Regions from separate parts of the Homo sapiens genome. Here region 1 is linked to region 2. The links are contacts of gene promoters, found by promoter capture Hi-C in blood cells and fetal thymus (Javierre and others, 2016). All regions are on one chromosome and are shown on one strand. Each heading gives the region's core, a stretch centred on a gene start or on the middle of the fragment in contact. The rest is flanking DNA. Distances are from core to core; before and after follow the strand shown. Region 1 overlaps STX8 (syntaxin 8). Region 2 holds the start of NTN1 (netrin 1).

Evidence for each region. Contacts are between HindIII fragments. The CHiCAGO score rates a contact against its expected background, and 5 or more counts as called.
Region 1: a fragment that was not itself captured here is called in contact with the fragment with the promoter of NTN1 in region 2 in 1 of 17 cell types (endothelial precursors); the score reaches 5.3 in endothelial precursors.

What each region holds. Positions count from the first base shown.
Region 1 is chr17:9,494,327-9,500,715 of GRCh38, forward strand. The region is part of intron 5 of STX8 (syntaxin 8); the gene reads right to left. Among named protein-coding and RNA genes, the nearest start is that of STX8, 78 kb to the right of the region's middle. The HindIII fragment of the contact is 5,519 bases long and covers 1,342-6,389 here.
Region 2 is chr17:9,019,527-9,025,348 of GRCh38, forward strand. It overlaps NTN1 (netrin 1), which reads left to right and starts at 1,984. Exons shown (of 7, transcript NM_004822.3): 1 at 1,984-2,059; 2 at 2,785-3,865. The coding sequence starts at 2,848. RefSeq lists silencers at 1,346-1,395, 1,446-2,235 and an enhancer at 1,382-1,925. The HindIII fragment of the contact is 7,248 bases long and covers 1-5,822 here.

The DNA of each region.
Region 1 (6,389 bases), core at 2,851-5,350, 480 kb after region 2:
TCTTAAGTAAAAAAGCAGGAAGCTGGGCGCAGTGGCTCACGCCTGTAATCCCAGCACTTTAGGGGGCTGAAGCGGGCAGATCACTTAAGCCCAGGAGTTTGAGACCAGACTGGGCAACACTGTCTGTCTCTACTAAAAATACAAACATTATCTGGGTGTGGTGGCGCATGCCTATAGTCCCAGCTACTCGGAGGTGGATGGATCACTTGAGCATGGGAGGCAGAGGTCACAGTGAGCCGAGATGGCGCCACTGCACTCCAGCCTGGGTAACAGAGTGAGAACCTGTCTCAAAAAAAAAAAAAAAAAAAAAAAAAAGATACAAAACAAAGTATAGTACAACAGCTTTTGTTTTAAAAATGAAAATGTATTACTTTGAAACTTTTTGCAAATTTAAAGAGCAAAGTTAGTTTTTGAAAATTTAAAGAAAAAGGTGAGTTAAACTCAAGTTACTCACGATCCTTTCTTTAAAATTTAATATGTATATTTTGAACTGGGGGTCTCGGTCATGTCTTTGTAAAAATTTTCTTCCTCTAATTTCAGGTGCTTTGAGAACACTGTGAAGCTGAGTGTAATGACTCTTGTTCACCACGGAACACGCCGCATGAAGGTAACATTGTACCCCTCGCAGCTTCATTTGTCTACAGGGTTTTTGAAATGACTGTTTCACATAAAGGCTTATCTACAAAAGCAAAAATCACAAAGGTCTTACTCGAGGTCGCATTAACATTTACTTATATTTTTTCCAAGTCTTTTTATGGAATTAAATCATCAAACTTAGCTCTTTAATTCATCTGGAATTTATTTAAACTAACGGTGTGAGGTAACAACCCCTTTGTGACATTGTTTGACACACTGTACTTTTTTTAACTATACAAATGACCTGCCGTCTTTAGGGATCATTCACAAGGACCATTTTATAGTAAAATCACTTTATAATGAGGTCCTCTTGGTCTTTAATAACAACCTCTTGGATGGCCTCCAAGATAAATCCATCCTCAACCAAGTGCTCCTATAGGATGACTGATGTTATAGTAAAATTCTAAATGCATCTGATGAATAATCTATATATATAGGACTGAGGGTTGAGTGTCAACGTGGATTAAAAGATAAAACCATTTAAAAATAGGAAAGGCAATTCCTCCACAGTTTCCATTAGGAAAAGAGTCATTAAACTCCTAAAATTGCTTTATCTAGTAGAGACATAGATTATGAATGAAAAATACACTAATTACACTCTTTAATCTCAAACTTGACTCATTATCTGATTTAGCAACCTGATGATCATCTAATGCACATGAGAAAGAGAACTAAAAGTTCTGTTCCCCTCTAATAATTTGTATAAGCTTAGCAATTCTCTCCACATCTTTAAGTGCTGCAGTAAATTTTCATTACACAATCCAAAGACACAGAAGATTCAGATAATCGAGATGCTGTAGAGGTAATAATAATCACATTCATAACCTGGGCTTCCCCAAGTCCTGAAGAGGCATTTCTAAGGGGAAGGTGGTATGGCTATCTTAGAGACAATGATCAAAACACAATGCTGCTGACTGCAAAAATATAAATAATCAAGAACCATGCATGGGCATGGTGGTGTGCGCCTGTAGTCTCAGCTATTCGGGAGGCTAAGGCAGGAGGACTGCTTGAGCCCAGAAGTTCAAGTCCAGCCAGGGGCAATATAGCAAGACTCCTGTCTCAAAAAGAAAAAAAGAAGAAGAAACCATACCATGCAGTTTCTTTTTCTTTCTCTTTTTTTTTTTTTTTTTGAGACAGAGTTTCGCTCTTGTCGCCCAGGCTGGAGTACAATGGCATGATCTCGGCTCACTGTAACCTCCACCTTCCAAGTTCAAGCAATTCTCCTGTCTCCGCCTCCCCAGTGGCTGGGATTACAGGCATCCACCACAATGTCCAGCTAATTTTTGTATTTTTAGTAGAGACGAGGTTTTGCCATGTTGGCCAGGCTGGTCTCGAACTCCTGACCTCAGGTGATCCAGCTGCCTCGGCCTCCCAAAGTGCTGGGATTACAGGCGTGAGCCACCACACCCAGCCACCATGTACTTTCTTACCAACAAAACTACCATCATGTCATAACTGCCAAAATCTGCCCTACTCTTTCACATAACCCAAGTCATGATGATATCACAAGAGGGCAATTGTAACATACCACACTCTATCAGTCATTATTCTATTTTACAATGATTTGAATTTTTAAAAATGGATGGATCATTGTTACAGATAGAATAATATCCCCCATGTTTAAGATGTCCATATCCTAATCCCCAGAAACTATGAATATGTTCCCTTACATGGCAAAAGGGACTTTGCAGATGTGATTAAGGTTAAAAATCTGAGACGGGGGATTAGCCTGGATTATCCAGGTGGATCCAGTATAATCATATGAGTCCTGAAAAGCAGAGAACCTTTCCCAGCTGCCATCAGAGGGAGTATGAAGAAGGGTCAGAGAGAGATAACTTACTGGCTTTGAAGACGAAAGAAGAGATGTGGGAGCCCTCTAGAAGCTACAAAAAGTAAGGGAACGAATTCTCCAGAATGAGCCTCCAGAAAAGAATCAAGCTAACTGCTTGATCTGAGCCCTGTGGGACCTGCATTGGACTACTCACCTACAGAACTGTAAGATCATAAATGTGTTTTAAGTCACTAAGTTTGTGCTAATTTATTAAAGCAGCAATAGAAAACTAATACAATCATTTTTTAAAAATCCCCTTGAAACCATTAGGTGTTTGGATATTTCCTATCTGTAGACATTCAGAAATGCAAGATCTGGATAGTGGGAAACTAAAGGGCAAATGCAGTTTCAATGAAGAAACTGCATAGAAGAAAAAGGAAGAGTTGGAAAAAGAACCTGTATATTAAAGAAACTTAAGAGACATAACTAGTTGCAATGTATGGGCCATATTTAGATCCTGAATTGAACTACCTAAAAGAAAACATCACAGCACAATCAGGGAAACTTGAATGCTGAGTATTTGATTAGATTCAGGAAATATTGTTAACTTCTTAAGGATGATAATGGCATGTGACTATAGTTTTCCAAAACAGTATTTATCTTTTCCAAACATATTTCAGATATATATTCTCAAATATCCACTGATGAAATGATACGATGTCTGGGATTTGCTCCCAAAATAACCTAGGGGCTGGGTAGGATGGGTAGGTTACGGGATGGCATATACATGTGAACAGATTGGCTATGGGTTGACAATCACTGAGGCTGGAGGATGAGTAGGACAAAGTCATTATCTGACACTCTCTACTATTACACGTTTGAAATTTTCCATAGTAAAAAGTTATCAATATTTTAACAATACAACAGAGGGACATCCCTAAGAGCTGCAACTACAGTCCCTGGATTGAGTACAAGATCCAGACCCCAATGACTGTCTTCTTTTCCTGTGTCTTTGACATACATGAGACTTCTTCTTTTTCTATGTCTTTGCCCCAGATCTGAGCCCAGCTAGTGGCACGGAGCACCAACATATTTAAATCAAGGACTGAAATGTACAACACTTGTTTAAATCAATGAATGACCACAGAGGGAGGGCCCTCTAGGTTTACAAAAGAAAGGAATACAGTCTCTGCTAGACAGAAAGACTCCTGGCCAATACTAGAGAGCCCTCTGAGTTTACACAGTCAAAAAAGTAGTTGATGTTGTGTTGTCCAGTGCCCACAGAGAAGCAATGAACCTTTCACATTTAACATACAGAAGGAGCTCTCCCTCAATAAAGGAAGGTAGGAATGAAAGAGAAGAAAATCAGGTCACCCAGGTGCAGTGGCTCACGCCTGTAATCCTAGCACTTTGGGAGCCTGAGGTGGGGGGGGATCATCTGAGGTCAGGAGTTCGAGACCAGCCTGGCCAACATGGCAAAATCCTGTCTCTACTAAAAATACAAATATTAGCCAGATGCAGTGGCATGCACCTGTAGTCCCAGCTACTTGGGAGGCTGAGGCTGGAGAATCACTTGAACCCAGGAGATGGAGGTTGTATTGAGTTGAGATCGCACCACTGCACTCCAGCCTGGGTGACAGAGTGAGACACCATCTCAAAAAAAAAAAACAAAAGAAAAGAAAAATTAGGTCAAGCTAGATAAAAAGTTAATCACTATGTTAGAAGACTCAGAGCAAGTTTAAGAATAGATGTTTTTATTTTTGTTTTAAGATTTTAGGAAAGGAATCCTTCTAGTCTAGGTGACAGCTACAAGAAAGGGTATCTTCAAAGAAAGTTTTCTGTGAAGCTGTGACTGCAAGGGTTCAAAGGTTAGCTACTAAGATTCCCCAGTGTGAAATGGAGTCTGGCTAGCCACCTTCTACAGCCCCATTTCACATGCAAACACCAAGAGACCTAAGAACGCAGAAATCTAGAACGATTGCACAATTTCCTGCTAGAGTCTAGAAAGAACATCTATAGAAAATTCATAAGACTAGATGAAGCTGATGAAGAAACCCCATCAAGAAAGACCTCCTGGGTGAAGGTGGAATGACACTTCATACTTCTCCAAGGTCTGCGATCCCACTCAGGGACAAGGGTGTATAATAACCAAAGCATTTTGAAACAAGAAACAAGTACCCTTGTTCCTTCTATCTCAGGGATCTTTGAGGCAATTAAGTGATTGTCATCACCCACCCATCTTCTGCCTAATGCCCATTTCATGCTTCAAATTACAGCTGAAGGGGCACAGAAGCCAAATTGGCTAATTTGTTACGATGAGGCTTCACTTCTAGGTTAGGCAAGGAAGGCATTCCCTGCCCTTCAGTCTATGTTCTACCAGTAAACTGTAATTTTGGGATGATTTTCAAAGTTTCTAAGGGTCAGCTAGAGTGCAGAATGGCTAAGGGATTCCACGGGCTAAAGGAAGTCAGAAATGACCTTTTGTGGCTCTTTATTTTCATTTAATGCAGGACCTGGCAAGGACGCAAACAAAGCCATAGCAACTTCAGCACATTGTCAAGATTCTTGAGGCAGAGAAAAGGCTAATAAGGGTTCTGTGTGAAGATTACTTCCATTTTTTGTATTTGTCCTTGAAAAACAGCTCGCTAGCAAAGAGGAATATGGCATTTCTTTCTTTCTTTTTCTTGAAGCAGTCTTGCCCTGTCGCCAGGCTGGAGTGTAGTAGCACAATCTCGGCTCACTGCAACCTCCGCCTCCCGAGTTCAAGCCATTCTCCTGCCTCAGCCTCCCGAGTAGCTGGGACTACAGGCGCCCGCCACGGACGCCCAGCTAATTTTTGTATTTTTAGTAGAGATGGGGTTTCACCATGTTGGCCAGGATGGTCTCGATCTCTTGACCTTGTGATGTGCTTGCCTCTGCCTCCCAAAGTGCTGGGATTACCGGCGTGAGCCACCACGCCCAGCCGGAACATAGCATTTCAAAACACAAAGGTAAGAGCAGTGGAGAGAAACTGACCTGCAACCTGCGCTGCCGCTCCCCGCAAACTCCACCCACACCCCACAGGCCAGCAGGCTTCCCAAGGGTGAGAATCTTCATAAGGAAGCTCTGTTTTGGAGACTGTGACAAACACTTTGAGGAGCATCCTCTCACACTGACCTAAAGCAACCCCTGAAAATAGCACCTTCTCCGGGACGAGCATACTCTTCCCGACTGAAAACAGCTTTTCTTGGCAAAATGCAACAATGCCAGAAAATGCATGAGTATTAGCTATAAGGTGCTCCATTCAGGAAATGTGAGTCCTGAAGAGCGAATGGTTGTGCTGCATGTAAAGCTGTGTTGTTTTTCATTTTTTTCACTTTCCTCCAAATATGGTAATGGGTGAAGTATGTAAAACTGAAGATGTAAGAGAGTCACGGTGTTTCACTGACTCAATAATTTCACTGTGAAAAGGGAATTCGAAATAGAATCAGATTTCTGCTTCTGCCCAAGATGGACTGACAGGCACCAGACTTCCTTCTGGACTGAAACAACTGGAAAAACAAAACAAAACAGGGTAAATATACGAAACAACAGTTTTAAGACATGGACATCAGGAAATGAAGGGCAGTGATCCCTGAGAGACGGGAAACAAATGAGGTGAGTTCTAAGACTGCCCCGGATTACTACCTCATAAGAGTTCCCAAGCCATGGTGTGGGGATGGGAGAACACAGGTGGAACCCAGCATTTTCCTCGAGTTGAGAAAAGTCCCAAGAGGCCATGGTGGTTAGAGGATGTAGGGCACAGGACCAGAGAGGACTGCAGAGAGTACTCTGTAGATCTGCACAGGGGCCACTTTGAGTCTCGAGCTGAGTGTCATTCAGAAATTAGTGACTTTGGCAAGGCTGCATGATCCAAGATCAATATACAAAGATCAACTGTATTTTGATATACAAGCAACAATTAGAAATTGATATTTTAAAAATGCTACTTAGAATAAAAGAT
Region 2 (5,822 bases), core at 734-3,233:
ATTTATATGTGTTACAGACCTGCAATATGTATGTCTATATCCCATCAGCTATAATATTCAAATGTGTCAACTCACGTGATGCTCACAACCCAGTGGGGTAGAAAGTATTATCTCCCTTGTACAGATGGAGGAAACCAAGGCATAGACTTTCCATAGTCACACAGCAGAGGCAGAATTTGAACCCAGGTACCCTGGCTCCGAAGCGTTTCCTCCTAAGAGCTATGCTGCCTTTCAGTATACCATTGCGATTTCACAGGTCACCATGGTTAACCATTTCATTTATTTCCTTTGACCTCACTTTTAATTTGTTATTGTGTCATATTTTATGTACCCTTGTAAGTTACCTGAAATCCTTTCTGCCACAAGGTGAGGTAAGGCATAAATAAACAGTGCAGAGTGTGGTAAACGGCACAAGAAGGCACAGCTAAATTGCTACCCCGGGGTAAGAAGATGAATCCAGGCTGTCCTGCAATGGAATGGATTTATTTTCTTGAGCTGTGGTGAGCTCCCATCCCTGGAAGAGCTGGCTTGGGTGGCCGTCTCTCTGGGAGGCTGGGGAAGGCCTTCTTCCAAGGAGACGGAGCTGGGCCAGACGAGCCCCGAGGCCCCTTCTTAGATTCTCAGGGTTTATGAAAATGCCAATAAGACAAACTGAGGCACTTAATGGAGCTAATGCAGCAAGGCAGCCCTTGGGCCGGAACCAGGACCTGGGGCTTTTCATCCGGGTCTATTACTGGACCACACATCTACAAGTAACAAATAAACGAGCAGAGATTCCGTTCCAAACTCTCGGCCCAGTGTATTCCTTTCCCAGAGCTCTCTGGCTGCTGTTGCAAGATGACCAAAGGATGCTGTCACTGTCCTCAGTCTTTTTATTGGGGCGATGGAGAATGAGGCAAGGAGGGGCTGGGTGGCCCCGCAGATGCCCCATGACACCATCATTCGGCAAGGTTATGCATTTGACGAATGCCCTGCAGTGGAAGGAGCCCAGGCTTCTCTTCCTGTTTTTGATGTTTACTTGGGGGTTGATCTTGTGCGAGTTTCTTCAGCTCCCGGGACCCTCAGTTTCCTCATCTGCAAAATGGAGTTAATACAACAGCAAAGCTGCTGTGGAGGTCCCATGAGCTATTACAGGGCTTTGCACCCTTAAAAATGCGGTTGAGGAAGTACCGATACGCCTGCCTCAGGGGATCTGGGGAGGGCTGGGCTGTCCCCATGCCTGAGACCAGGCAGGCCCGTCTTGGAGGGGCGGTGGCCAGCGTCCAGGTGCTGCCAGCTTCCTACCCCTTCAGCCTCCTGCCCACCACTGCTCCCTTGGCTAGAACGAAGCCGCGTTCCCGACAGACAGGCTCACGCACGGTGATATCCGTGGGAGTGCGGGCGAGCAGCCCCTCCTCGCCGGACCCCGGGGGCTTCGGGCAAAAATGGAGAGCAGGCAGAGGTCACATCCTCCTCCTCTTCCTCACGCTCCCGGGCTGCGTGCCCACAGGGGCACAGCCCTGTGCGCGGTGCCACCGGGGGCCATCAGGCTGGGTTAGAGGAAGGCCCGACCTCCGCGCAGCAAAGAAAACAAACACAGATGTGTTTGGCTGGGACCGGGAGGGAGAAAGTGGCCCCCTTCCCCCGCCCGCGCGCTCCCCCGGGCGTGAGGCTCTCCGGGCGGCGCGGGGCGCGGGCGAGGCTGACAGTCCCCGGCGGCCCCTCCTCCCCCACGGGGTGCGCGCCTGGCCCGGCCCAGCCCCCTCTCCGGGGTTTCCCCGGGTGCTCTCCTCGCTTTCTCTTTGTCTCTGCTGTTCTTTCTCGGGCTCCCGGGTTCCCACCCGCCTGTGCTCTCCCTCTCGGGCGTCCGGGCCGGTTCCCTTTAACTTTCTTCTTTCCCGGGGTGAAAACTTTGCTCGGAGCTGGCGGCAGCTCGCGGACGTTATTGGCCGGCGCCCCGCCCGGCGGCCCCGCCCCCCGCCCCCGCGCTCCCCTCCGCCCCTCACTCCCAGCGCGAGTGGCGGCGGCGGCGGAGCCTTCGGGGGCGAGCGCGCGTGTGTGTGAGTGCGCGCCGGCCAGCGTGAGTGTGTGTGCGCCCCGGGCGCGGGCAGGGCAGCACTCCGAGCTCGGCGGGAGCGGCGGGAGCCGGGCGGCCGCGTAGTCACTCGGGCGAGAGAGGCGGCGGCGGGGCCGGGACCGGGGCTGGGGCTGGGGCAGCGGCGGCCGCGCCGGGCATGGAGCTGGCAAGCCCGCGCTGAGGCGGGACGCGCCTGCTAGCAGCGAGCGAGAGGCTCTCCGGCGACCGGCGCGCGGGCTCCCCGGAGGGGCCAGGCAAACTTTTCTTTCTCTTTTGCCCCCTCCAGAGGTAAAGTCCCGAACGCGGACTTTCCGGCGGGGACGCGATCGGGGGGCATCTGAGAGGGACCCCGGGCTGCGAGACGAAGGGGCGCGGGCCGTGCAGAGTCGGGGTCCCCCAGCTCTCCTGCGCCCGAAACTTGGGGTGCGAGGGGGGCTGGTCGCGGACGGGGAGACCGGCTCAGGCATGCCCCTCGGGCGGCGTGGGGGCGGCGGTGGCGGGGAAGCAGAGCGTTCTCCCGCCGGGCGGGGAAGAAGGGGCGCGAGCGGTGCGGACTTGGAGGGCCCCGGCTTCGCCGCCCGCGGGACTTTGGGGGAGAGAGGCGGGCAGTCGGCTGCGGGGTGGGTGCCCAGGAAGCCGGGCGTTCTCCCGCATCTCCGCTCGCCACCCCGCCGAGAGCTGGAGGGCGCGGGGCGGGCTGGCTGAGCGCAGCTCCCTTCTCTCCGCAGGCGCCTTCTGCGGCAGGCGGACAGATCCTCGGCGCGGCAGGGCCGGGGCAAGCTGGACGCAGCATGATGCGCGCAGTGTGGGAGGCGCTGGCGGCGCTGGCGGCGGTGGCGTGCCTGGTGGGCGCGGTGCGCGGCGGGCCCGGGCTCAGCATGTTCGCGGGCCAGGCGGCGCAGCCCGATCCCTGCTCGGACGAGAACGGCCACCCGCGCCGCTGCATCCCGGACTTTGTCAATGCGGCCTTCGGCAAGGACGTGCGCGTGTCCAGCACCTGCGGCCGGCCCCCGGCGCGCTACTGCGTGGTGAGCGAGCGCGGCGAGGAGCGGCTGCGCTCGTGCCACCTCTGCAACGCGTCCGACCCCAAGAAGGCGCACCCGCCCGCCTTCCTCACCGACCTCAACAACCCGCACAACCTGACGTGCTGGCAGTCCGAGAACTACCTGCAGTTCCCGCACAACGTCACGCTCACACTGTCCCTCGGCAAGAAGTTCGAAGTGACCTACGTGAGCCTGCAGTTCTGCTCGCCGCGGCCCGAGTCCATGGCCATCTACAAGTCCATGGACTACGGGCGCACGTGGGTGCCCTTCCAGTTCTACTCCACGCAGTGCCGCAAGATGTACAACCGGCCGCACCGCGCGCCCATCACCAAGCAGAACGAGCAGGAGGCCGTGTGCACCGACTCGCACACCGACATGCGCCCGCTCTCGGGCGGCCTCATCGCCTTCAGCACGCTGGACGGGCGGCCCTCGGCGCACGACTTCGACAACTCGCCCGTGCTGCAGGACTGGGTCACGGCCACAGACATCCGCGTGGCCTTCAGCCGCCTGCACACGTTCGGCGACGAGAACGAGGACGACTCGGAGCTGGCGCGCGACTCGTACTTCTACGCGGTGTCCGACCTGCAGGTGGGCGGCCGGTGCAAGTGCAACGGCCACGCGGCCCGCTGCGTGCGCGACCGCGACGACAGCCTGGTGTGCGACTGCAGGCACAACACGGCCGGCCCGGAGTGCGACCGCTGCAAGCCCTTCCACTACGACCGGCCCTGGCAGCGCGCCACAGCCCGCGAAGCCAACGAGTGCGTGGGTGAGTGGGGTGCGGCGGCGGAGCCGGCGGCGGGTGGGGCCGCGGGCGGGAGCTGCTGGGCCTCGCAGCGGCGAGTTCATAGGAGCGCGGGTCGAGGGAACGGCGGGAGGCGCGTTCGCCGATGCCCGGGACCCGGGAGGGCTCAGAGCAGGTCCACTCGCTCGCGTGGCGCTCGTGGTGGACGCCCGAATTTGCGCCCAGTGCTCTCTGCGAAGCCAAGAAGCAGCAGGAGAAATGTTCCCGGGAGGGGGTTTGGCAGAACATTTGCAGATAGGTCTCCGCTAACCCTGGATCCAAACGCAAACATTCATTGCCTTCCCCCTCGTTGGGTTGGACGCTGGGATTCACCTGCACCCACCCCCCTTTCCCAAGGCTGCAGCTGGGCTCGCGGTTGGGGACCCCGGCCCAGTTCCTGGGAAGTTCCAACTCCACACCTACAAATCCCTTGGGAGATGGCAAAGAACTGTTTGTAGTTTGGGGTCAGTTCGGTACCCGACGAGTATCACTCCTGCCCTCCATTTGTCTTTTCATGATTTGAAACTATTTTTGTCTCTCTTTTGAACAGCGTGTTTGTGTTAGCAAAAGAAGAATGATGTGATTTCAATTAATTACTATCTGCTGATTACAACGGAGCGTTCAGTAATTATTTTAAACGAATTCAATTCTGGTCTAAAAAAGTATACCAGATTTTTTTTATTAGCTTCAGGCTTTGGTGAAATTAAACAGTTTTGAATTAACTAAGGGTCCAGCTTCTCACTTTTTAAATAGGGTTTCATTTCCTGAAAGAGAAATCTGACAAAACCGGGTGAATACGGCTGGGTCAGAAATGAAGCTAAAAAAGGATACGTTCTGCTTCTGAATTGGACGACTTTGCTGCTGCAGAAGCTCTCAGAAATCAGTTTCTCCCCATAAAAAGAAAAAAAGGGTGAGGGGAGGTAGCAAGACTACACCTTACTTTTTCAGTATGGGAAGTAAAGCTCCAAAGCCCACATTTATTTGAGCGAAAATTATTTAGTCTGTAAATGTCCCATTTGGTGTGCATCCTTTATGAACGTACAGATTTTTCCTCTCCATCTCCCCATCTCAAACAGCCAGTGTGAGGCTCTTCAATTGCTTTGCCCCTCTTAGGCACATTTCAAAGTTTGCTGGTCCCCACAAACACACGTTTTGAGGTCTGGTTCTGATTAATTGTGTCATGTTGTTGTCGAATAGTTTGTGCCTCATGACTGTGGATGCAGAGTTTTGAGCAAGGGAATGGAAAACATGTCTTGGAGGGCCGGATCGCCGCAGAGGCCCAGTCAGGCGTCCTGGTCTGAAGACGCCGGGCCTCCCGCCTCCTGTTGCAAGGGAGGCCTCCATTTTTACGCTCGTGTCCCGCTCTTGCAGACATAATTGTTTGTCCCCTTTCTTTTAAGGATCAGAACTAGTTTCCAGTCTGAAGACACTTTTCAAGATTTCGCAGAGAGAGAGAGAGTGTAGTTACACTCCGACTTAGTAGTCTTCTAGAATAAAATTCCTTTGATCTGCTCAGTTCCCTCGGAAATGTTGGTTTTTCCCATCTCTTCTTTTCCCCCTCCTTCCTCTTTTCTTTTCTTCCCTTTGTGCGTAAAAGCCCTTTATTGACATTTAAAGGGATTCCCAGGGTTTTGCTATCAGTTTTAGTTTGTATGTGCATATGAAAGATAACTTTGTCTTGTCACCATCAGGGTCTAATTGGACAAATGCAAGTGAATACATTTAGGCGAATAAACTTGATGTGGTGGTGAAATTTCTCTGGCTTGAAGATTTGCCTTAGCGTTGGTATTGTTCAGATTCACCACCCACCCCCAGGTCTTGCCGTCAGTTTGGATGTGGACACGTAACCTGCGTTTGTTATAATGATGGTCATGCACTTGAAATAATCTCTATAGTTTGGGATTTTGTCTCTTGACCAAAGCACTAACTATGCACACAAATT